7 separate regions of the Homo sapiens genome follow, and regions 2, 3, 4, 5, 6 and 7 are each linked to region 1. The links are contacts of gene promoters, found by promoter capture Hi-C in human tissues and cell types (Jung and others, 2019). All regions are on one chromosome and are shown on one strand. The core of a region is centred on a gene start or on the middle of the fragment in contact, and the rest is flanking DNA. Distances in the headings are between cores, read along the strand shown. Region 1 holds the start of MAPRE1 (microtubule associated protein RP/EB family member 1). Region 2 holds the start of PXMP4 (peroxisomal membrane protein 4). Region 3 has its middle 6.3 kb from the start of E2F1. Region 4 holds the start of C20orf144 (chromosome 20 open reading frame 144). Region 5 overlaps CBFA2T2 (CBFA2/RUNX1 partner transcriptional co-repressor 2). Region 6 overlaps PLAGL2 (PLAG1 like zinc finger 2). Region 7 holds the start of SNTA1 (syntrophin alpha 1).

Evidence for each region. Contacts are between HindIII fragments. The study calls those that stand out against the background at their distance.
Region 2: a contact is called between the fragment with the promoter of PXMP4 here and the fragment with the promoter of MAPRE1 in region 1, in 1 of the 25 tissues and cell types used here (dorsolateral prefrontal cortex).
Region 3: a fragment that was not itself captured here is called in contact with the fragment with the promoter of MAPRE1 in region 1 in 1 of the 25 tissues and cell types used here (hippocampus).
Region 4: the fragment with the promoter of C20orf144 here is called in contact with the fragment with the promoter of MAPRE1 in region 1 in 1 of the 25 tissues and cell types used here (dorsolateral prefrontal cortex).
Region 5: a fragment that was not itself captured here is called in contact with the fragment with the promoter of MAPRE1 in region 1 in 2 of the 25 tissues and cell types used here (aorta and bladder).
Region 6: a contact is called between a fragment that was not itself captured here and the fragment with the promoter of MAPRE1 in region 1, in 1 of the 25 tissues and cell types used here (aorta).
Region 7: a contact is called between the fragment with the promoter of SNTA1 here and the fragment with the promoter of MAPRE1 in region 1, in 1 of the 25 tissues and cell types used here (hippocampus).

Annotation. Positions count from the first base shown.
Region 1 is chr20:32,818,544-32,821,343 of GRCh38, forward strand. MAPRE1 (microtubule associated protein RP/EB family member 1) reads left to right here and starts at 1,411. Exons shown (of 7, transcript NM_012325.3): 1 at 1,411-1,485. RefSeq lists a silencer at 1,128-1,717 and enhancers at 1,790-2,459, 2,460-2,800. The HindIII fragment of the contact is 10,810 bases long and covers 1-2,800 here.
Region 2 is chr20:33,718,893-33,721,692 of GRCh38, forward strand. It overlaps PXMP4 (peroxisomal membrane protein 4), which reads right to left and starts at 1,418. Exons shown (of 4, transcript NM_007238.5): 1 at 1,203-1,418. The coding sequence starts at 1,315. RefSeq lists an enhancer at 965-1,014. The HindIII fragment of the contact is 6,661 bases long and covers 1,164-2,800 here.
Region 3 is chr20:33,691,296-33,694,095 of GRCh38, forward strand. No RefSeq gene overlaps it. Among named protein-coding and RNA genes, the nearest start is that of E2F1, 6.3 kb to the left of the region's middle. The HindIII fragment of the contact is 8,188 bases long and covers 1-2,800 here.
Region 4 is chr20:33,660,777-33,663,576 of GRCh38, forward strand. C20orf144 (chromosome 20 open reading frame 144) reads left to right here and starts at 1,551. Exons shown (of 2, transcript NM_080825.4): 1 at 1,551-1,695; 2 at 2,756-2,800. The coding sequence starts at 1,570. All of the region lies in intron 5 of NECAB3 (N-terminal EF-hand calcium binding protein 3), which reads right to left. RefSeq lists an enhancer at 2,134-2,800. The HindIII fragment of the contact is 51,797 bases long and covers 1-2,800 here.
Region 5 is chr20:33,554,173-33,556,972 of GRCh38, forward strand. All of the region lies in intron 1 of CBFA2T2 (CBFA2/RUNX1 partner transcriptional co-repressor 2), which reads left to right. Among named protein-coding and RNA genes, the nearest start is that of CBFA2T2, 65 kb to the left of the region's middle. RefSeq lists an enhancer at 1,008-1,167. The HindIII fragment of the contact is 6,731 bases long and covers 1-2,800 here.
Region 6 is chr20:32,192,170-32,194,969 of GRCh38, forward strand. It overlaps PLAGL2 (PLAG1 like zinc finger 2), which reads right to left. Exons shown (of 3, transcript NM_002657.3): 3 at 335-2,800. Among named protein-coding and RNA genes, the nearest start is that of PLAGL2, 14 kb to the right of the region's middle. The HindIII fragment of the contact is 8,636 bases long and covers 1-2,800 here.
Region 7 is chr20:33,442,341-33,445,140 of GRCh38, forward strand. It overlaps SNTA1 (syntrophin alpha 1), which reads right to left and starts at 1,423. Exons shown (of 8, transcript NM_003098.3): 1 at 971-1,423. The coding sequence starts at 1,280. RefSeq lists silencers at 969-1,028, 1,139-1,618 and enhancers at 1,849-1,918, 1,897-2,397, 2,369-2,428. The HindIII fragment of the contact is 21,074 bases long and covers 1-2,800 here.

The DNA of each region.
Region 1 (2,800 bases), core at 161-2,660:
GCAACCTCTGCCTCCCAGGTTCAAGTGATTCTCCTGCCTCAGCCTCCCAAGTAGCTGGGATTACAGGCGCCCACCACCATGCCCGGCTAAGTTTTGCATTTTTAGTAGAGATGGGGTTTCGCCATGTTGGACAGGCTGGTTTCCAACTCCTGACCTCAGGTAATTCATCCGCCTTGGCCTCCCAAAGTGTTGGGATTACAGGTGTGAGCCACCACGCCCAGCCCAGTTCCTCCTTCAGCCAAGGCTCTCTTGAGAATGTAAGGGCCAGGTGTGGTGGCTCACGCCTGTAATCCCAGCACTTTGGGAGGCCGATGCGGGTGGATCTCTCGAGCCCAGGAGACCAGCCCAGCCTGGGCAACATGGCAAGACCCCATCTCTTAAAAAAAAAAAAAAAAAAAAGAGGGAGTGGGCAAGAGAGAATGTATGTACAGCCATTGGGAAACAACCCGGAACAGGACTCAGGAGGTCCTTGCTCCTGTGGACTTTACAGGAGACAGACAGTAAAGGCACAAGATGCCTTCTTATGGTACTAAGAAGAAAATATGCCGCATGATATTGCAGATGGGGGGGCGGGGGCGTCACAGAACGTGACTTTTTTTTTTTTTTTTTGAGACAGAGTCTTGCTCTGTCGCCCAGACTGGAGTGCAGTGGTGCAGTCTCGCCTCACTGCCACCTCCGTCTCCTGGGTTCAAGTGATTCTCCTGCCTCAGCTTCCCAAGTAGCTGGAATTACAGGCGCCCACCACCACGCCAGGCTAATTTTTGTATTTTTAGTAGAGATGGGGTTTCACTATGTTGGCCAGGCTGGTCTCAAACTCCTGACCTCAGGTGATCCTCCCACCTGGGCCTCCCAAAGTGCTGGGATTAAAGGCGTGAGCCACTGCACCCGGCCCAGAAAGTTGACTTCTAAGCGTTTCCCCAAAGTGTCTATTAGGTATCTTTATGATTCAATAACCCATTCTTACAGAAATTAATTGTAAGCCTGGGAGCGGTGGCTCACGCCTGTTATCCCAGCGCTTTGGGAGGCTAAGGCGGGAGGATCGCTTGAGGCCAAGAGTTCGAGACCACCCTGGGCAACACAGCGAGACCTCCATACATCTCTAAGCAAAAAAAAAAAAAAATTCATTGTAAAAGCAATTTTCTTTTTGGTTACTGCCATAGGGATTTTGTAACTGAGTCACACCGGGCCGAGGCGGGACCTCATTGGCTGCGACCGACCACGTGCCGCAGTCGCCCCGGCGGTCGGGGCCCCGCCCCTCGGCTACCGTTCTGTGGATCAGGGGCCGAGCTCCGCCCCCGGCGCGCGGCTGAGACCCTCTCTATAAAAGGAGCCGGCGGAGGATGGCGAGCCTTTACGTCGGCGCGTAACGAGGGGGTGCGTGTGAGGTCATCGCGCGGGCGGGCGGGCGGGGTCTGGCGGTTTGAACGAGACGAAGACGGAACCGGAGCCGGTTGCGGGCAGTGGACGCGGTTCTGCCGAGAGCCGGTGAGCCGGCTAGCGGGCCCGGGGGGTGCGGCTGGGGGGGCGGCCGCGTGGGCCAAGGCCGGGCGTGCGCGGGCAGGCCCTACGGGCAGCGCCAGGGCCGTTCCACACGGCGGTGCTGTTCGAGCCGGGTGGGGGAAGGGCGGGGCCGTCACCCGGCGCGCGCGGGCTGGGCCTGGGGGCGCGCGCTGCGCTCTGCTCAGGGGGCGGGGTCTCGGGCCGGAAGTGGGCTGCTGCTACGCGGGGTGGGGGTTTCTGGGCCGCCGCTGAGGTGTGGTCCCTGCGCTGCAGCGACTGGAGGTCCCAGGGTGGTTGGGCCCTGGGAGGGTGTGGGCGAGGTGGGCCGTCCTGGGAGCTCTGGGGACGCACATTGTGGGAGGCCGTGTTGCCTGAGGGCCGAGAGATCGGGTGGTGGAGTCAGACCTGGGTTGGGTTCCGTGCGGTGTGACCTTGGACAGGTGCTTTAACCGCTGTGGATCTCAGCTTCCTCATCTGTAAAACGGGGACAGTAATACTACCCACATTAAACTCTTAGCGCGATGTATGGCAGAAAGTAAGCCAGCTCTTGGACTCCCTCCTTTCTTCAGTGTGTGTTTATTGAATGCCCACTAGGTGTTGGGCACCGTGCTAAACCCTGGCTGTTTTCCCGGGAACAAAGATTTGCTCTCCAGGAATCCACATTATGATGAGCAGGAGGACAGTATAACGGGATGGTATCAACAGTGCTAGTTCAGTCCCTACTTCACAGTTGCCCTCGGATGCTGCAGGGCAGAGCTTGACCTCTGCCCCATTTTGGGGATGAGGATCCTGGGGCCCATTGAGGGAGGTTATGCTAGGCCGGGCATCCGCTTCTCCGATGGCATGTCTCTAACAGTAGTAATGATAATAGCAGCTCTTTGTTAGTTGGGCACTTGTTTTGTGTCAAGCACTGTTAAGTGCTCCATGTGGCTTTGTGTCTTTTAATACTAACACTGTCTTTAAGAGAGATTCTCTTCTTCCTTTTTTTTTTTTTTTTGAGACAGAGTTTTATTCTGTTGCCCAGGCGTGCAGTGGCACCATCGCTCACTGCAACCTCCGCCTCCCGGGTTCAAGCGATTCTCGTGCCTCAGCCTCCCGAGTAGTCGGGATTACAGGCGCGCGCCACCAAGCCCGGCTAATTGTTGTATTTTTTAGTAGAGACGAGGTTTCGCCATGTTGGCCAGGCTGTTGTCGAACTCCTGACCTCAAGTGATCTGTCCGCCTCGGCCTCCAAAGTGTTGGGATTACAGGTGTGAGCCACCGCGCCTGGCAAGAGAGATTACTTTCATTTTACAAATAA
Region 2 (2,800 bases), core at 168-2,667, 900 kb after region 1:
AACTTTCTTTTTTTTCCTTTTGAGATGGAGTTTCACTCTGTCACCCAGGCTGGAGTGCAGTGGCACAATCTCAGCTCACTGCAACCTCCACCTCCTGGGTTCAAGCGGTTCTCCTGCCTCAGCCTCCCATGTAGCCGGGACTACAGGCATGTGACACTACACCCGGCTAATTTTTGTATTTTTGGTAGAAACGGGGTTTTGCCATGTTGGCCAGGCTAGTCTCGAACTCCTGACCTCAGATAATCCGCCTGCCTCGGCCTCCCAAAGTGCTAGGATTACAGGTGTGAGCCACCGTGGCCAGCCTGTGCTAAGCATTTCACACATATTGACTCAATCCTGATAGTATAAGTACTAGTACCATGCCCATTTTACAGATATTGAGGCTTAGAGAGGCTAAATGACTTCCTCCAGATCACACGGGTAGGTGGGGCCAGGGTTCAAGCCAAGGCATCCACATCCTTCCCACCATCCCACGTTGCCACTAGGATGCCAATTCTGGGGGACACAAACCACTTTCTCTGGTTTGTTCTCTGCTTTGTCCCCGGTTCTGGCACTGTAGGCCCTCAATAAATGGTGGCTGTTATGCACTAGGTTTAAAGGAGACTGAGCTCCCCTCTAGGCACCAGCCAGGGCAATGACCCCAAGACCTCTCTTGCAGGTAAGATGCCAGGATAGTTGCAGCTTCTTTTACATTCATTGTCACGTCCCAGGAGCCCCCTGAGCCGAACGGGACTTAGCGCTGGAGTCCTACAGGTGAGAAGTGAGAAGCAGGATGCAAGCCCATGGGCAAGCTTCATGGGGACAGAATAGACAGGAGGCATCCGCCTGCCAGCTAGAGGCCAGAGTCCAGTTCCCCATTGTGCAGATGGGGCCGTTGAGGCCCAAAGGCACACAGAGAGGTGAGGTGAACTGAACCCAAATGAGGGGATACAGAAGCTGGCATGGGAGGAGTCAAAGCAAGAGGGCCAGGCTGCAAAGGTTGGAAGACCCAGAAAATGTGCAGTGGGAGCCCCAGTTCAGAGCTGGGAAGGCGCGCAAGCCAAAATCCAGCTCCCATTGCACAGATGGTGACCTCCGAGACTTAGAGACACACGAGGACTGCTCCAGGGCAAACAGCACCGCGGCATCGGACTTCGAACTCGCGCCTCTGACCCCAGGCAGGACATCCCTCAGCCCCAGCCCGGCCCGACGGCCCCACTCACACAGCCCCGTTCCGGAAGCCCTTAAGCACGGCCAACGCAGCGTGGTAGCGGCGCTTGCGCAGCAGTGCGTTGACGACTACGAGCAGAGCCCTTAGCTGCGGCGGGGCTGCCATAGTGCGGGCTGCGCGCAGGGTCGGGGTTAGGAACTGTAAGCGCACTGACAGCCGGAGGTTCCAGCTGCGCGCCCACAGCCCCTCGGTAGCGCCGCCGACTCGTGGCGTCTATAGGCTGTTTCTGCGTCACTCATGCATGGAAGACCAATCAGAGAGCGTACTTGTCTCATGGGACAATAGCACTCATCGAAATAGTTGTCTGACTGGAAGAGAAAGGAAAGCTTGTAGCCAATCACAGTGGGCTCCGCCCAAGGTCACACACGATTTGTCCAATCAGAAGGCACTTTCCCTTGGGCCATGTTGGGTTCACGAGTGGGTTTGGAAGGAGGCGTGTACTTGGAAGGAGGGCTCCTGAATGAGGAGTGGCCCTGCTTAGAGATGGGATGGGCGACAGGTGATGATACAGGGAGGAGCAGGGCCCCATCTTTATGCGAGATAGTTCTGACTGGGATATCCTTTACCATAGCGATCTTCCCAGAGTGTCAGTCACATGGCCCCTCAATGGCTTCCATGTACGTATGTATGTTTTGAGATGCAGCCTCGCTCTGTCACCCAGGCTGGAGTGCAGTGGCGCGATCTCGGCTCACTGCAACCTCCACCCCCCAGGGTTCAAGCAGTTCTCCTGCCTCAGCCTCCTGAGTAGCTGGGACTACAGGCACCCACCACCATGCCTGGCAAATTTTTTTGTATTTTTAGTAGAGACGGGGTTTCACCATGTTGGCCAGGCTGCTCTCCTGACCTCAGGTGATCCACCTGCCTCGGCCTTCCAAAGTGCTGGGATTACAGGCGTGAACCCAGCCGGCGTCCACTTATTCTTAGAATCCAAACTCCTCCCCAAGGCCCAAGAGAGAAGACCTCCTGTGATCTGGTCCGTGCCTCTCCCTCTGACCCCACGTTCCAGCACTTGCCACCTCACTGCTTCCCAGCCAAACAGCCTCCTTTCTGTTCCTTGGGCCAAGAACCCTTCTACCTCAGGGCCTTTGCACTTGCTGGTTCCCTGCTTGATATTCGCCATCCTGGGCTCTTCCCATGATGGGCTTCTTCTCATCCTTCAGGTTTCAGCTCAAATGCCACTTCATCAGAGAGACTTTCTGAGACATCCAATTTGAAGTAGCACTGTCCACTCTGACTCATTACCCTGGCTCTTTTTTTTTTTTTTTTTTTTTTAGACTGAGTCTCGGATCTATCACCCAGGCTGGAGCGCAGTAGTGTGATCTCAGCTCACTTCAACTTCTGCCTCCCAGGTTCAAGGGATTCTTCTGCCTCAGCCTCCTGAGGAGCTAGGACTACAGGTGCATGCCACCACGCCCGGCTAATTTTTGTATTTTTAGTAAAGACGGGGTTTCACCATATTGGCCAGGCTAGTCCAAACTCCCGACCTTGTGATCCGCCCGCCTCGGCCTCCCAAAGTGCTGGAATTACAAATGTGAGCCATCGTGCCCGGCCACCCTGGTTCTTATGTGTTTTTTTTTTTTATAGAACTTT
Region 3 (2,800 bases), core at 198-2,697, 870 kb after region 1:
GTGAGCTGCTGTTAGTCTTATTACCGCCAAGGAACTGACTGGTACCAGCACAGCTTCTCTGCCTTGCAAGTAACCAAAGATAACATATGGACAGGCCGGGTGTCGTGGCCCATGCCTGTAATTCCAGCACTTTGGGAGGCCGAGGCAGGTGGATCATCTGAGGTCAGGAGTTCGAGACCAGCCTGGCCAACATGGTGAAACCCCGTCTCTACTAAAAATACAAAAATTAGCTGGGCGTGGTGGTGGGCACCTGTAATCCCAGCTACACAGGTGGCTGAGGCAGGAGAATTGCTGGAACCTGGGAGGCAGAGGTTGCAGTGAGCCAAGACTACACCATTGCATTCCAGTCTGGGCAACAAGAGTGAAACTCCATCTAAAAACAAACAAACAAACAACAACAACAACAAAAACATGGACATAGAAGAGAGGGAAAAGTGGATATTCGTGGCTGGGTGCGGTGGCTCACGCCTGTAATTCCAGCACTTTGGGAAGCCGAGGTGGGTGGATCACCTGAGGTCAGGAGTTCGAGAGCAGCCTGACCAACATGGTGAAACCCCATCTCTATTAAAAATACAAAAATTAGCTGGGTGTGGTGGCAGGCGACTGTAATCCCAGCAACTTGGGAGGCTGAGGCAGGAGAATCACTTGAACCGGGGAGGTGGAGGTTGTAGTGAGCCAAGATCAAGCCATTGCACTCCAGCCTGGGTGACAGAGTGAGACTCCATCTCAAAAAAAAAAAAAAAAAGGCAGATATTTGTAATCAAACAGCAGACAGGGGGTTTGGTGCCAGCCAGCAGCCTGGCTGTGTGGCCTTGGCCAAGTCCTTCACCATCAGTTGGCCCATATGTTCCGTGGGTTCAGGCCAGAGGGTCTGAGGTCCAAGGTAACTGCATAGGTCTCAGTCGATTCTCAAGTCTCCCCCCAGCCCTGGTCACTCTCTGAGTGCACGCTCTGGGGACCTCCCTTCTCTCCAAGCCTCACCCATGGCAACTTCCTTTCTCTGCGTCACCCAAGCCTCTCAGGAGGGGTCATGCTTTTCCAAGGAGTGGGGCGAAACCGGACATATGACTATGCCTCCTCTGACCAGGGCCACAGCGAAGGTGGGAGTAGGAGGCCTTTACAGTTGAGGGGCTCAGTTTTTTCATCTGTAAAATAGTGATGATAATAATCATAGTGTTTACCTGATGGAGTTGTTAGGACATTGAGTTATTAACATGCCTGGCACATAGGGAGAGCTCAATGAATGTCAGCTGTTGTGAAGAGTGCAGAATGACTCCCTGAAGTGGCTTGCCTACACTCCCCTCTCAATTTTTCCTCTGAAGAAATGCTTCTTGCTGGGCGCAATGGCTCACGCCTGTAATCCCAGCACTTTGGGAGGCCAAGGCGGGTGGATCACCTGAGGTCAGGAGTTCGAGACTAGCCTGGCCAACATGGCGAAACCCCATCTCTACTAAAAGTACAAAAATTAGCCGGGCGTGGTGGCAGACGCCTGTAATCCCAGCTACTCAGGAGGCTGAGGCAGGAGAATCGCTTGAGCCTGGGAGGAGGAGGTTGCAGTGAGCCAAGATCACGCCAATTGCACTCCAGTCTGGGCGACAGAGCAAAATTCTGTCTCATAAAAAAACAAAACAATAAAAAAATTAGCTGGTTGTGGTGGCACACACCTGTAATCCCAGCTACTTGGGAGGCTGAAGCAGGAGAGTTGCTTGAACCCAGCAAGTGGAGATGGCAGTGAGCTGAGATCGCGCCACTGCACTCCAGCCTAGGTGACAGAATGAGACTCTGTCTCAAAAAAAAAAAAAAAAACAGAAAAAAACGAAAAACTTGTTAGGCTGCAGAATAGCAGAATTTTCATGAAGCAATTCCTGCACTGCCTCCCACATTCTATTAGCCACAAGGAGGAAAAAAAAAAAACTATGTTTGGAGGGCAACGAAGCGTGTAAAATGAAATAATACCATATTCCATTGATTCTGACACCTTTTCTTTCATATTTTAACCTCTCTGAAATTGAGGTGCATCCTAGGATCAGTGGAATATCCATTTGTAGTCAGTAACTATTTTTCTTAGGGGCTCAAAACGGCATATCTCATATTGGATGGCATCTTAGAAGTGACAAGCTGTGGTGTACAAAAAGTGCCAGGCTCAGGGCCCGCCACGTCACAGGCCCTCAGGTTGTCCTCATGACCTTCAGCATCCCCAGCACATTCGAGGCTGGTCATGGTGGAGTGATCAGCTTTTCTTTCTTTTTGTCATTTTCTCACTGACACCTGCTGACCTGCATTTGGTCCCCGGCTTGACAGGCACATGGCAAATGCAGTCAGGGAGGCATATGGGGAGGGCTCAGGATGGGAAGAGAAAGACTTTTTATAATATATTAAGATATTCAAAGAGGAGGAGCCAGAGATTCTTTTTTTAAAAAACAAACAAACAAACAAAAAAATCCCCGCTGGAAGCCAGAGTTATATATATGCCACACAGGCCAGGAAACCCAGCAGGCCTCCTGGAGCTGGCAGCAAACCGAAACAGGGGTATTGTGTCCAGGCCACTGGCTGGCTGAGGGACATTGTTAGGGCCTTGCCCTGTCTGGGAAAAGGGGGGTGGCGGGGCAGGGGGAGTGTGTTCCCATGACTCCCTGGGGAGTAACAACAATTGGGCCAGCTGGGAAGCCGGGGATGCCAGGGGCCCAGTGGGCAGGAGGTAGGCCCCCGAGGGGCCATGGAGGGCACTGCGGAGGCTGAGGAGGTGGGGTGCGGGGGAAGGAAGGTCAGGGTCTGTTTCTTAGCTGGGAGGCAAGGCCTA
Region 4 (2,800 bases), core at 301-2,800, 840 kb after region 1:
AAGGCAAAATAATGGCGTGGTGTGGCCCCAGACTCACAATCTACGTATTCACTCATTCATTCATTCACTCATACACACAACACTGGGTGCTTTTTACTAGGAGCTGCTGATAAAAGACAATCAGGTTGCCATTCTCACTCAGACACACACGCCGGCACTGACCCCAACCGACACTGCCAGCCTCCTCCCAGCCCCTCTCAGGGTGGCAGAGAGGCAGGGAGGCTGCCCAAATGCTAGGCCCTGCATGGCCCAGCATGGGATTCTGAGGCTCCTCAACAACCGTCAGTTCCTGGAGCTTCCATTTCCTCATCTATCAAACAGGAAAGATGAAACTCAGCACATGGAGCTGCAAGAACGTCCCAGGAGTTAATTCCTGCATAGGACTCAGCCCAGGGTCTGGCACGTAAGCTCTCGATGCCAGACCTACCAGCCATCTATCGTCAAGTGTAATACAATAAAGGGCCTGCCCACTTGTACACCCAGGAGTCACAGATGTCCTGAGAATTGCCTAACCCCTACCACACACACACACACGCATCAGGGTGGGAGTCCTGGGGAGCTGCAGTCCAGGTGCCTGCCCTCTCCGAGGAGACTCCAGAAGCCCCATCCATCAGAGACTTCATCTCCTGCCATGACCTGCCTCAGCTCAGCCATCGGATGGGACCTCCTGGGCCAGGCTTATGAGCTAGGAGACAGGGACAGAGAAGAGGCTGGGTCTTTTCATTCTCAGACAGGCCAGGGTTTCTATCTCCATGAAATCTTCCCAAAAAATTCCTTTTTGGGTATTTGAGATGATTAGTTTCTGTTGCTTTCAACCAGAGAACAGACAGAAGCACCCACTCAGAGCCAAGCACTACTGCAAGAAGAATTTCATTTAGTCTTTTGTTTTTCTGAGACAGAGTCTCACTGTATCACCCAGGCTGGAGTGAAGCGGCATGATCTTGGCTCACCGCAACCTCTGCCTCCCAGCTTCAAGCAATTCTCCTGCCTCAGCCTCTTGAATAGCTAGGTTTACAGGCCTGTGCCACCACACCTGGCTAATGTTTGTATTTTTAGTAGAGACGGGGTTTCACTATGTTGCCCAGGCTGGACTCGAACTCCTGACCTCAGGTGATCCACCCGCCTCGGCCTCCCAAAGTACTGAGACTACAGGCATTAGCCACCATGCCAGGCCTCATTTAACCTTTGTAACAATTTACAGGAACCATAATTGACCCCATTTTGCAGATGAGAAAACAGGTCCAGAGAGGTTGATTACCTGGGCTAAGGTCACATAGCAAGTTAGTAGCAGGGCCAAAATTCATACCCAAACCACAGAAATCCCCCTCTATTCACCACTAAGCACCTTACATGCATTGCCTCATTTATGATCATTAGCCCAGTTTTACAGCTGAGAAACCAAGGCTAGAAGTGACTGAGTGGAGCCCAGATTCACCTGTGGGCCCTGGAAGGCGGTGCTCAGAGCCTGCAATTGGTGAGGTCAGCCCGTGAGGTCACAATGTTGCCAGGGCCCAGGGGGCAGAGCAGACGGAGTGTGGGCCATCGTCCCCAGTGGTGACCAGCCCTGCCATGGGAAACTATAGTTCCCACAAAAGGACCAAAGCACCCAAGCAGGCCCGCAAGGAGAGGCCGGCTGACATGGACAAGGCCTGGTGGAAATCGTTCCTCAACCACCTCACTCGGAAGAAGCCGGCTGTGAGGGCGGGGGATGGGGAGCAGGGCTGGGGAGGCAGCTGGGGGGCAGAGAAAGCTGGACAAGTGGGTGGGAAGGGATGCTGGGAGTCTAGGCCTTGTATGCAGAAGTCCTAGGGGGTGAGGGAGGAATTCGAAAATCTCTCCCAAGGATGAGGATCCCAGGAGCCCATATGGGTGTGGATGGGGGTCCTTTCAAGGTGGCTCACGCCTGTAATCCCAACACGTTGGTAGGCCAAGGTGGGTGGATAACTTCAGCCCAGGAGTTTGAGATTGGCCTGGGCAACATAGGGAGGCCCCATCTCTACAAAAATTAAAACTTAGCTGGTTGTGGTGGTGAATGCCCGCAGTCCCAGCTACTCAGAAGACTGAGGTGGACTACGTGAGCCCAGGAGGTCAGGGATGCAGTGAGCCGTTGACAGCACCACTGCTCCAGCCTGTAGGACACAGCAAGACCCTGTTTGACTCAGTCTTAAACAAAAAAAGCCCAGAAGGGAGGGCAGAGATTCCAGAACCAGAAAGTGGATGAGACTTGAGAGCCCCGGGGGGTGAGCATGAGTGGGATTCTCTCCCAACCCTGGACGAACGGGTGGAGATCCCAACACGGAGAATCAGTTCTAGTTGGTACTACTGGAGCTAGAGGCAGGGGGAATTCCCTAGTGTCCTCTCTTCAGCTCCTAGGCTCAGAACTTCCCTGTCTCCCTCTCAAATGAGCAGAAGCCCTGGACCAGGCGGGGGTGGGAGGTGCTGAAAGCCCCTGACATAGGGCCTGGAAGGGATCTCATAAACTTAGACGGAGCTGGTCTCAGGAAGTCAGCCTGGGATGGATGAGGGTTTCCAGAAAGGAGGCGGAGTCCGGGGCGCCACGCAGGGAAGGGCGGGCTTCCCCGCGGCCTGAATTGGACAGGGGTCCCCTCCAGCCCTGTGCACGAGAGGATGACAGGACCCGGGTGGACGACAGGACCCGGGTGGACGAGGGTCCCAGGAGAAGCGCGGAGCGGCCCCGGGTCGTGGGCTCGGCCCTAGCGCGCTCTCCCGCCTCACGCCCCTGTTCCACCCCCAGACCAGGATCGTGCTGATTCTCCCCCTGGACAAGCGGCAGCCGCTG
Region 5 (2,800 bases), core at 170-2,669, 740 kb after region 1:
AGAACTTCTGTGCAAGTAAGGAGTTATTACAATGAAAAGCAAATTCACTATAAGCACCAGTGTTTATTTTTCTTACTTTTTTCTTTTTTTTTTTTTTTTTCAGACAGTGTTGCTCTGTCACCCAAGCTGGAGTGCAGAGGCATGATCTCAGCTCACTGCAGCCTTCGCCTCCTGGGTTCAAGTGATTCTCCTGCCTCAGTCTCCTGAGTGGGATTACAGGCTTGTGCCACCTGGCCCAGCTAGGTTTTGTATTTTTAGTAGAGACGGGGTTTCACCATGTTGACCAGGCTGTTCTCGAACTCCTGACCTCAAGTGATCTGCCCACCTCAGCCTCCTAAATTGCTGGGGTTACAGGGGTGAGCCACTGCGCCCGGCCTATTTTTCTTTTTTCTTTTCTTTTCTTTTCTTTCCTTTTCCTTTTTCTTTTCTTTTTTTTTTTTTTTTTTTTTTTGAGATGGAGTTTCGCTTTTGTTGTCCAGGTTGGAGTGCAGTGGAGTGATCTCAGCCTCCCAAATTGCTGGGGTTACAGGTGTGAGCCACTGCGCCTGGCTGTTTTTCTTTTTTAACGTTGTTTGAAAGTCTAGAATCATTTTTATGTGCTAGATGAGAGATTTGATCTGATAAATCAAACTCAGATGTCTGCATCTCAAGTGTATTTGTAGAATTATTTTTCTGTTTTCTATTAATTTAGATTGAATGTCAGAGTACCCATTATAGGTATTAAAATGAATATTACATAAGAAAAAATAACAACTTAAAAATGTTCAGAATTGTTTAAATAAAAACTTTAGACAGACATTTAGCAGAATTTAGGTGAGCATTAAAGGATTCAGGCAGCATTCAAAACTGGAAGAAGTTCAGAGAGCTCTGCTTTAGAAGCAGGCTTTTATAGGCTGAACGCTGTAGCAAAGTAAAGGAATTACTTGATTGGCTGTAGCTAGGCACTTGCCTTATTTGGATATGATCCAGTGGAAAGTCCCTAGTTAGAGGTTTGTTTTTGATTGGTTAAGCTTAAGTTTCATTTTATGTTTACATTGGGCTTCAGTTTGCTTACTAGGCACTGGAGCCAGCTGTCTCAGCCTAATGGCTGCCCAATTTAAAAAAAAAAAAACATTAAAATGGCATGTAGTTGTCATCATCAGAGTAAGAAACCAAAGAAGAGACCGTCATGAATGGGATCATTAGATCATGGACTGACACACATGTTCACTTAATACCCACAAGAGTGTCTTCACACTTTTTTGTCATGGATGGGACTTGTTTTCTGTTTTTTGTTTTGTTTTGTTTTTGATACAGTAAAATACTTAGGAGTTCTTGCAACTTTCTATAAGTTGTTTACATTTTACTCCAATTGCTTTATCATTGTGTGTATTTTGGAGGTACAGTTTTTTTCCTGAACCACTCTGAAAGTGGAAATATGCCCTTTTATCCCTAAATACTTAAATGCATATTTCCTGAAATCAAAGGCATTTTCTTACATAACCACACATAACCACAGTACAATTATCAAAATCAGAAAATGTAATAATGATACCATACTATTAACCTGATTCACAGACTATATTCAGGTTTTATAAATTATTTCAATAATGTCTTTTATAGCTCTTATACCTCAATCCAATTCAGTCTGTCATCACACACTGAATTTAACTGGCATGTCTCTTTCTTCCTTGCCTTTCCCCTTTCCTCTTTCCTTTTTTCTTCTTTCTTAGAGACAGGGTCTCATTCTGGTGCCCAGGCTAGGGTGCAGTGGTGCAATAATGGCTCACTGCAGCCTTGACCTCCTGGACTCAGGCAATCCCCCAACCTCAGCCTCCTGAATACTTGGGAATATAGGCACATGCCATTATGCCTGGCTAATTTTTTTTACTTTTTGTAGAGATGGAGTCTCACTACGTTGCTCCGGCTGGTCTCGAACTCCTTACCTTAAGTAAGCCACCTTCCTTGGCCTCCCAAAGTTTTGGGATTACAAATGTGAGCCACTGCGGCTCTTTAATTTTTCTTATTCTAAAACAGTTCTTCAGCCTGCCTGCCTCCTCTTCTCCCCTCCTGGTACTTTTCTTTTCTTGACCATTCCAATTTTGAATACAGACCAGTTGTTCTGTACTTAGTTTGGGTTTCGTTGCCGTTACCTTATGATTACATTAATGTTACGAATTTCAGGCTGGAATACTATAGAAGGGATGTATTCTCCTTAATGCCTCATTTAAGGAGGCACATAATCAGTGTGTCTCAATATTAGTGATTGGTTAATCATTGTATTAAGGTCATGTCTGCCAGGTTACTCCACTGCAAAAATTACTATCCTCTTTGTGATTAATAAGTAATTTGTTGGGTATATTTAGAGATGATGAAGTTGTCCTGTTTTTCATTAGTTTTCTATTCACTAGTAGTCTCAGCATCTAGTGGTGATTTTCTTTTTTCTAATTTTTAATTTTTTTTTGTAGAGACAAGGTCTCACTATGTTGCCCAAGCAGATTTTGAACTCCTGGCCTAAAGTGATTGTTCCACCTTGACCTCCCAGAGTGCTGACATTATAAGCATGAGCAGCTGCACCCTACTAGTGGTAATTTTCTAATTCCATCATTGTTTCTGCATTTACATATTGGCATTCTAATGAAGGAATGCTTTCCTTTCTTCCTTGTTGATTGGTTAAAAAAATTAAATATGGATTATGCTCTAATCCATTACTATCATTATTTATTTTGATGCTTAAATTGTTGCACAATTCCAGTGGTAGTCCCTTCTAACTGGCTTTAGTGTTCTTTTGACATACCCCTGTCATTTTTGAGCAGTCTCT
Region 6 (2,800 bases), core at 180-2,679, 630 kb before region 1:
GAGCCACTGGATCAAGCCTAACCCAAAGACTGCTCTACATCTGGCATTTTCCAGTTACATGCAATTTCAGTGTTTAAAGCCAGTTTGATTTTGGCTGTCTGACTCTTGCATCCAAGATGATTAACTGATAGAATTATGCCACTTACCTCAAAGACATGCAAATATGATATTTAACTTAAAAGTACAAAGCTTATAGGTGCTGATGGGAGGGGTTTTTACTGTCTGCCCTACGCTCACCATCATCCTGGATGCTAAAGATGTCTGGAGACTCCAATTCTTCCCAATTCGAGGCTCTCTCCAACCGTTTCCCAATCAGACAGGTTCACAACTCCCAAACACATCATTCAGAAGTTTTTAATAAACAACTTCATTATAAAAACCTTTTTTTGAAAATGTAATTCTGTAAAACATTGAAAAATCTACTTTAACAAAGATATGCCCTGTGCATTTTCTAATGGCACTTATACTTTACAATTAAAAACCTTGTTTTATATAAAGCCAAAAATACTCCAAGAGGTTATTCACTGTGTTTACAAAGTGCTAGAAGATTTCTGTCTTGTACTTTTCTCTTTAAATAATCTGGAGTTACAAAAGAGTGGCTCCAAAGCCTTGACCGCTGGTAGGGAGGGAGAAGCATGAGAAGTGGTGTCTCAGGAGTTCTAGTGCCAAAGGTGGAGAGGTGCAAGTGGGAACAATCAGCTAAGGAAGTCAGCTGACACACAAAGAAATCGGACTGGAATTTTTCCAAACCCCTCTATGGAGGCACTAGGTTATCATGGTGAACACCCTTTTCCCTCGCCATAGACCCTACTCTCCAGAGGTGAAGGTCATGGCCAATTCCTTCCACAGCAGGTTCAGAGTTCCAGGAGAGGCCAGGGTGGGATCCCAGAGGAATCTGGACTTTTCTGGCCAACACCTGCCTAAGGCAAAGTTTCTTATTACATAAATATCCTTGTTAAAAAGCAAAATATTGATCCTGTACAATATAACCTGTTAAAAAAATCGTGCTTACAAACAGCTCCTAGATAAGAGGGCAGGTGGAGAGAGGACGGAGAAAACAGCTACCAAAAAGGGAGGGGGGAGTTTAAAGGACTACTAGGGAAAGTTTTAGGGCAGTGGGAGAATTCCAACTTAGGACAATATCTACGAGCAAAAAAGTAATCACACCTGCTTCCCGGATTTTCAATTAAGAAAATGCCATTTGTAAAAGGTTGGGCGGTGGGCTGGAGGGCGGGGGTTGCAGGGAACCTCATTGGCGCTCCTTTCCCTGCCTCCCACCTCAAGATGATGCAGAGATCCTTTGAGCTGACACCTGGGCATGTCATCCCCTTACCCCCAGGACTGTACTCAGCCCTGACCAGCTACTGTGTAGGGTGGGAGGGGGACAGCTCATTGCTGGCAGAGGCTGGAGGTGGCAGGGAAAGGGGACATCACTTTTTTTCCTGGTCCCTCATTGGTCTTTGTCATATGCCATGGCTCCTGTCCTGGGCAGATGCCCCTCAGGTTCTCATGGCCTCAGTAAGCATACTGAAGTGAGTTCGGGTACTGAGTGCAGGATAAAGCTATTCTTATCCTTTGAACAACCAGGCCACTAAGGCTTTTTTTTTCTTTCCCCCCGACCCCCCAGATTTTAGGAAGGGAGGTTTAAGAAATGACTGGCTAGCTATGGTCCAAAAAAAAAAAGGTGAAGGCAGATATTATTCCTCTGTACCAGCAAAGTTCACAGTGATAGGAAAATTCCTTGTGGGTGCTGAGGACACTGAGAGGAGGAAAGGAAAGACAGGATAGATGGGAGGACACAGGAGTGGGGAAGGCAAGGAGAAAAGACAGGAGGTGGGGGCAAGGCCCCGGTTACAAAGGGTTTAAACAGTTGCTTTGCCAGTCCTATGACTTTTCCAGCATCACTTACGGGGAGAGAGAATTCGAGGGAGGGACAGGAAAGGGCAGGCAGAGAGGAAAGGACTCCTCTAACAGCCCGGGACTTTGTATTCTGCAGCCAGAGGCCCAGTGGCCTCTGTAAACTGAGAGTGTAGGGAAGGTGGCAGTTAAGGTGAGAAGGGTTGCTGAGTCTAGTGATGAAAACCAGATACAACAAAGAGGATGGCAACAGCGAGTCCCAACTGGATTCTCACATACCATCACCTATAATACAAGTCCCAATAACATGCACAGCATGCAGGAGGTGGCTGCGTACCAAGGTAGACACTTTTTAAAATAAACCTTAATTAGTCCCTGGGACTCACTGAAACTAATTTTTAGAAGCAAATCATCTAGTCTGATTCTAACCTTGCCAGACATTTTAATATCTGGTGTTTTTAAAAAGGTATCCCAAGCTACCCTGCCTAAATCAAAACACACTTACTCCAAATTGCTTCTAATCAAGAGCTAGGGAGCTAAATTTTAAGGCTTTTACCTCAAACAAGGAGTACTGGCTTAGGCTGAAGCAGAAAGCTGAGTCCTGGACCTGCTCAGTTCCTGATGACAAACCAAGTGAACCTAGACAGAAGGTGGGTGAGGGAGGACTGGTAGGAGGCTGAGGCAATTCCTTGGTAGTTTGTCCTGAAACCCTACTGGAGAAGTCAGCATGAGGCACCTACTGAGAGAAGTGCCCAGAAACTGCTGACTGCATCTGTTAAGAGTTAACAGTAAAGAGGTAGAAGTGTGTTTCTGAATCAGAGTGGAAGCGTCTCAAGGGTCCCACAGTGGAGGTCCCTGAGCTACCTCCCTTCCGTGAGTGGGAAGAGTGAAGCCCATGAAGAACTGAGATGAAGCAAGGATGGGGTTCCTGGGCTCCAGGCAA
Region 7 (2,800 bases), core at 173-2,672, 620 kb after region 1:
CTGATACCCTTTCCCAAAGCACCTGCTGGGGGCTGGGACCCTGAGAAACAGATGGGCAGGAATAGTGAACCCAGCAGCTGGGGGTGTGCAAGGATTTTAACAACTATGTTTAGTTGCTTTGGGAGTATCTGCTGGCCTCCATTTTTCCTCTCCGCTAACAGCAGTAATTAACTAGGCACCTACAGTGTGCTGGTGTGGTGAGCCCTGCTCTCAGAAACATCACAACTCTGTCATCCTCTTATACAGTTGAGGAAACAGATTCAGAGGCGGGACGGGACTTTTGCAACCTCACACAGCTGATCCTGGATTCAAACACAGTCTGGTTGCACCCTAACTGCACCCCACTAGCGGTCAGTCCTGGGGGCTGAAAGCTCTATCCTGTGCAAGGTGGAGATAGTCAGATCAGGAGACCCAAATCCAGCTGTCAGGGCTCCCTGCAGCCTTCCTGGGTCCTTAGATTCCTAGGTCCTTGCTGGCCTTCTGCCTGTGACCCCAGCCTGTGCCTGCACCCAGGCCTCCTATCCACCCCTGTGCTTCCCAGACTCCAGGCTTCCCCTCTGCACCCACCTTGGTTGCTTCTCAGGGACTCCCTCCTCCCTGTCCCACTGGTGTCCCGGCCTCAACCCCCTTTCTCCACACTCTGCTTTCCGGGGGACCCCTCTTGTCCTTGATGTTCATGCTGGTTACCCCTCAGACCCCCCCGCCTCCACACAGAACTCCCACCCACGTGTCCTTGGTGCTCCCACAATCTTATCCACACCTGTGTCTTCCGTGCCCCCTAAGGCCACCAACTACTGAAACCCCCTCCAACCTTGGTGTGCCCAGTGCCCTCCGTTACCTGTTTCCTCAGACCCCCCTTACCCCCAGACAGGAAGCCTCCAGCTCCATGTCCTGGGCGCGCTGCCAGCCCCCTGCGCCCTCGGCTGCCCCCAGACACCACGACCCCGCGCCCTCGGTGTCCCGCGCCCACCTTTGATGCTGATGCCCAGCCCACCGGCGTCGGCCTTGCGCACCGTCACGCGGCGCCGCTGGAGCAGTAGCGCCTCTGGCAGCTGCGGGGGCCCGGCGCCCGGCTCCGCGGCGCCGTTGAGCTGCGCGGGCTCCTGCTCCCGCGGAGCGCCGGGCTCGGGACCAGGGTCGCCGTCGGCGGGGCTCACGGTCAGCACGTCCTCCGCCAGACTCAGCAGCACCCGCTGCCATCGCTCGCCGCCGGCCCCCGAGCCCGCCCCGGCGCGCAGCTCCAGCAGCCCGGTGCGCGGGGCGCGCCTGCCGGACGCCATCTTCGCCTCCGAGCCCCCGGGCCGCCGCGCTCGCCCTGTCCCGCTTTGCCCAGCCCGCTCCGACCAAGCGCCCAGGGCAGAGGGCAGCGGGGGCCCGGCTGGGCCAGCCGCCACCCTACCCCGGCCGCTGGGGGAGGAGCTCTGGGGGCGGGGCTACCCTGGGGTGTGGCCAGTGCTGGGGAGGGGGCCTCGGGCAAATGCAGGAGGCCGGGGCGGGGCCCGGGAGCCGAGGGCCGCCGTGTGGGACTACCTAGCGGGGTGGGTCAGAAGGGCGGCGGGGCGGGCCACTAAGTAAGGCGAAAGCCCGGGAGGCGTGGTGCTGGGCGGGGCGTCAGGGGGCGGGGCTTCGCGTCGGGGGCGGAACCCAGTGAGCCCGCGCAGGGGGCTCGGCGCTCGGAATGCCCATCGAGGGCCGGGACTGTAACTCCCGGACGTGGGAGCGCATGAAAAAGAGACAGAACCACGTATCCTGGTGCGAAGCACTGGGCATCGGGCTGGGCTGCATATGGCGGAGGGCTGGGCTGCGTATGGTAGAGCGTTGGACTCCAAGGCTTGAGTTTAAGAGGTAGACACCGTCTGGGCGTGGAGGCTCACGCCTGTAATCCCAACACTTTGGGAGGCCTAGATGACAGCCCAGAAGCTCGAGGCTGCAGTAAGCCGCGATCGCGCCACTGCACTCCAGCCTGGGTGACAGAGCGAAACCCTGTGTCAAAAAAAAAAAAAAAAAAAAAAGGTAGATGCTGAGCCGCGAGAGACCTTGCGGGCACAGTTGCTAGTTGGGGAGCTGAGGAAGAAGTTGGTTTCCTATCGGGGAGGGCGGGGGATGGGGGGTGGGGGTCGAGGCTTTGGTCTGTGGGCGTGGCTTATCGCTGGCGTGGCTTCTAAAGATGACAGGCCCCGCCCCCTGGAGGAGACCGCTACCGACACCGCTTAGGGCTTGGGGGAGGTGTGGGCAGGATCCCCACTTCAAAACTGGAGGGAAGTTTAAGAGATTAACCCCTGGCTGTGTTCACAGTCGAGTATAGAAAAGCCTGAAGTCCCACACTTTGAGGCCTGGCAGAAAAAAAACAGAACTGGTGTGTGGGAAGAGGGTTGCAAGGTGGGGCTCTGGGTCTGGGCGACTGGAGACATGGTTTCTAATCTTTGCTGCCTCTGTTAGCTCCAAGTCGACTTTGGTCCCCTCACGTCACTGCTCTAGGCCTCAATTTCCTCATCTGTAAAATGTGGATCATAATAATACCTACTTCACTGGGCTGGTGTGAGGATTAAATCAATGTGAAAACACGTGGTAAACTGTGACTCCCTATTCTATAGAAATAATCACTTTCATTTAGTGAATGCTTACTCTTACCTAGGGCTGGCAGAATATTTTCCAAGTGTTATCTTTACATTAGCCTCCTGGAGTAGCTAAGAGCACCCCCAGCTGGGCACAGTGGCTCACACCTGTAATCACAGCTGAGGTGGCAGGATCGCTTGAGCCTTGGAGGTCCAGGCTGCAGTGAGCTGTGATTGCACCATCA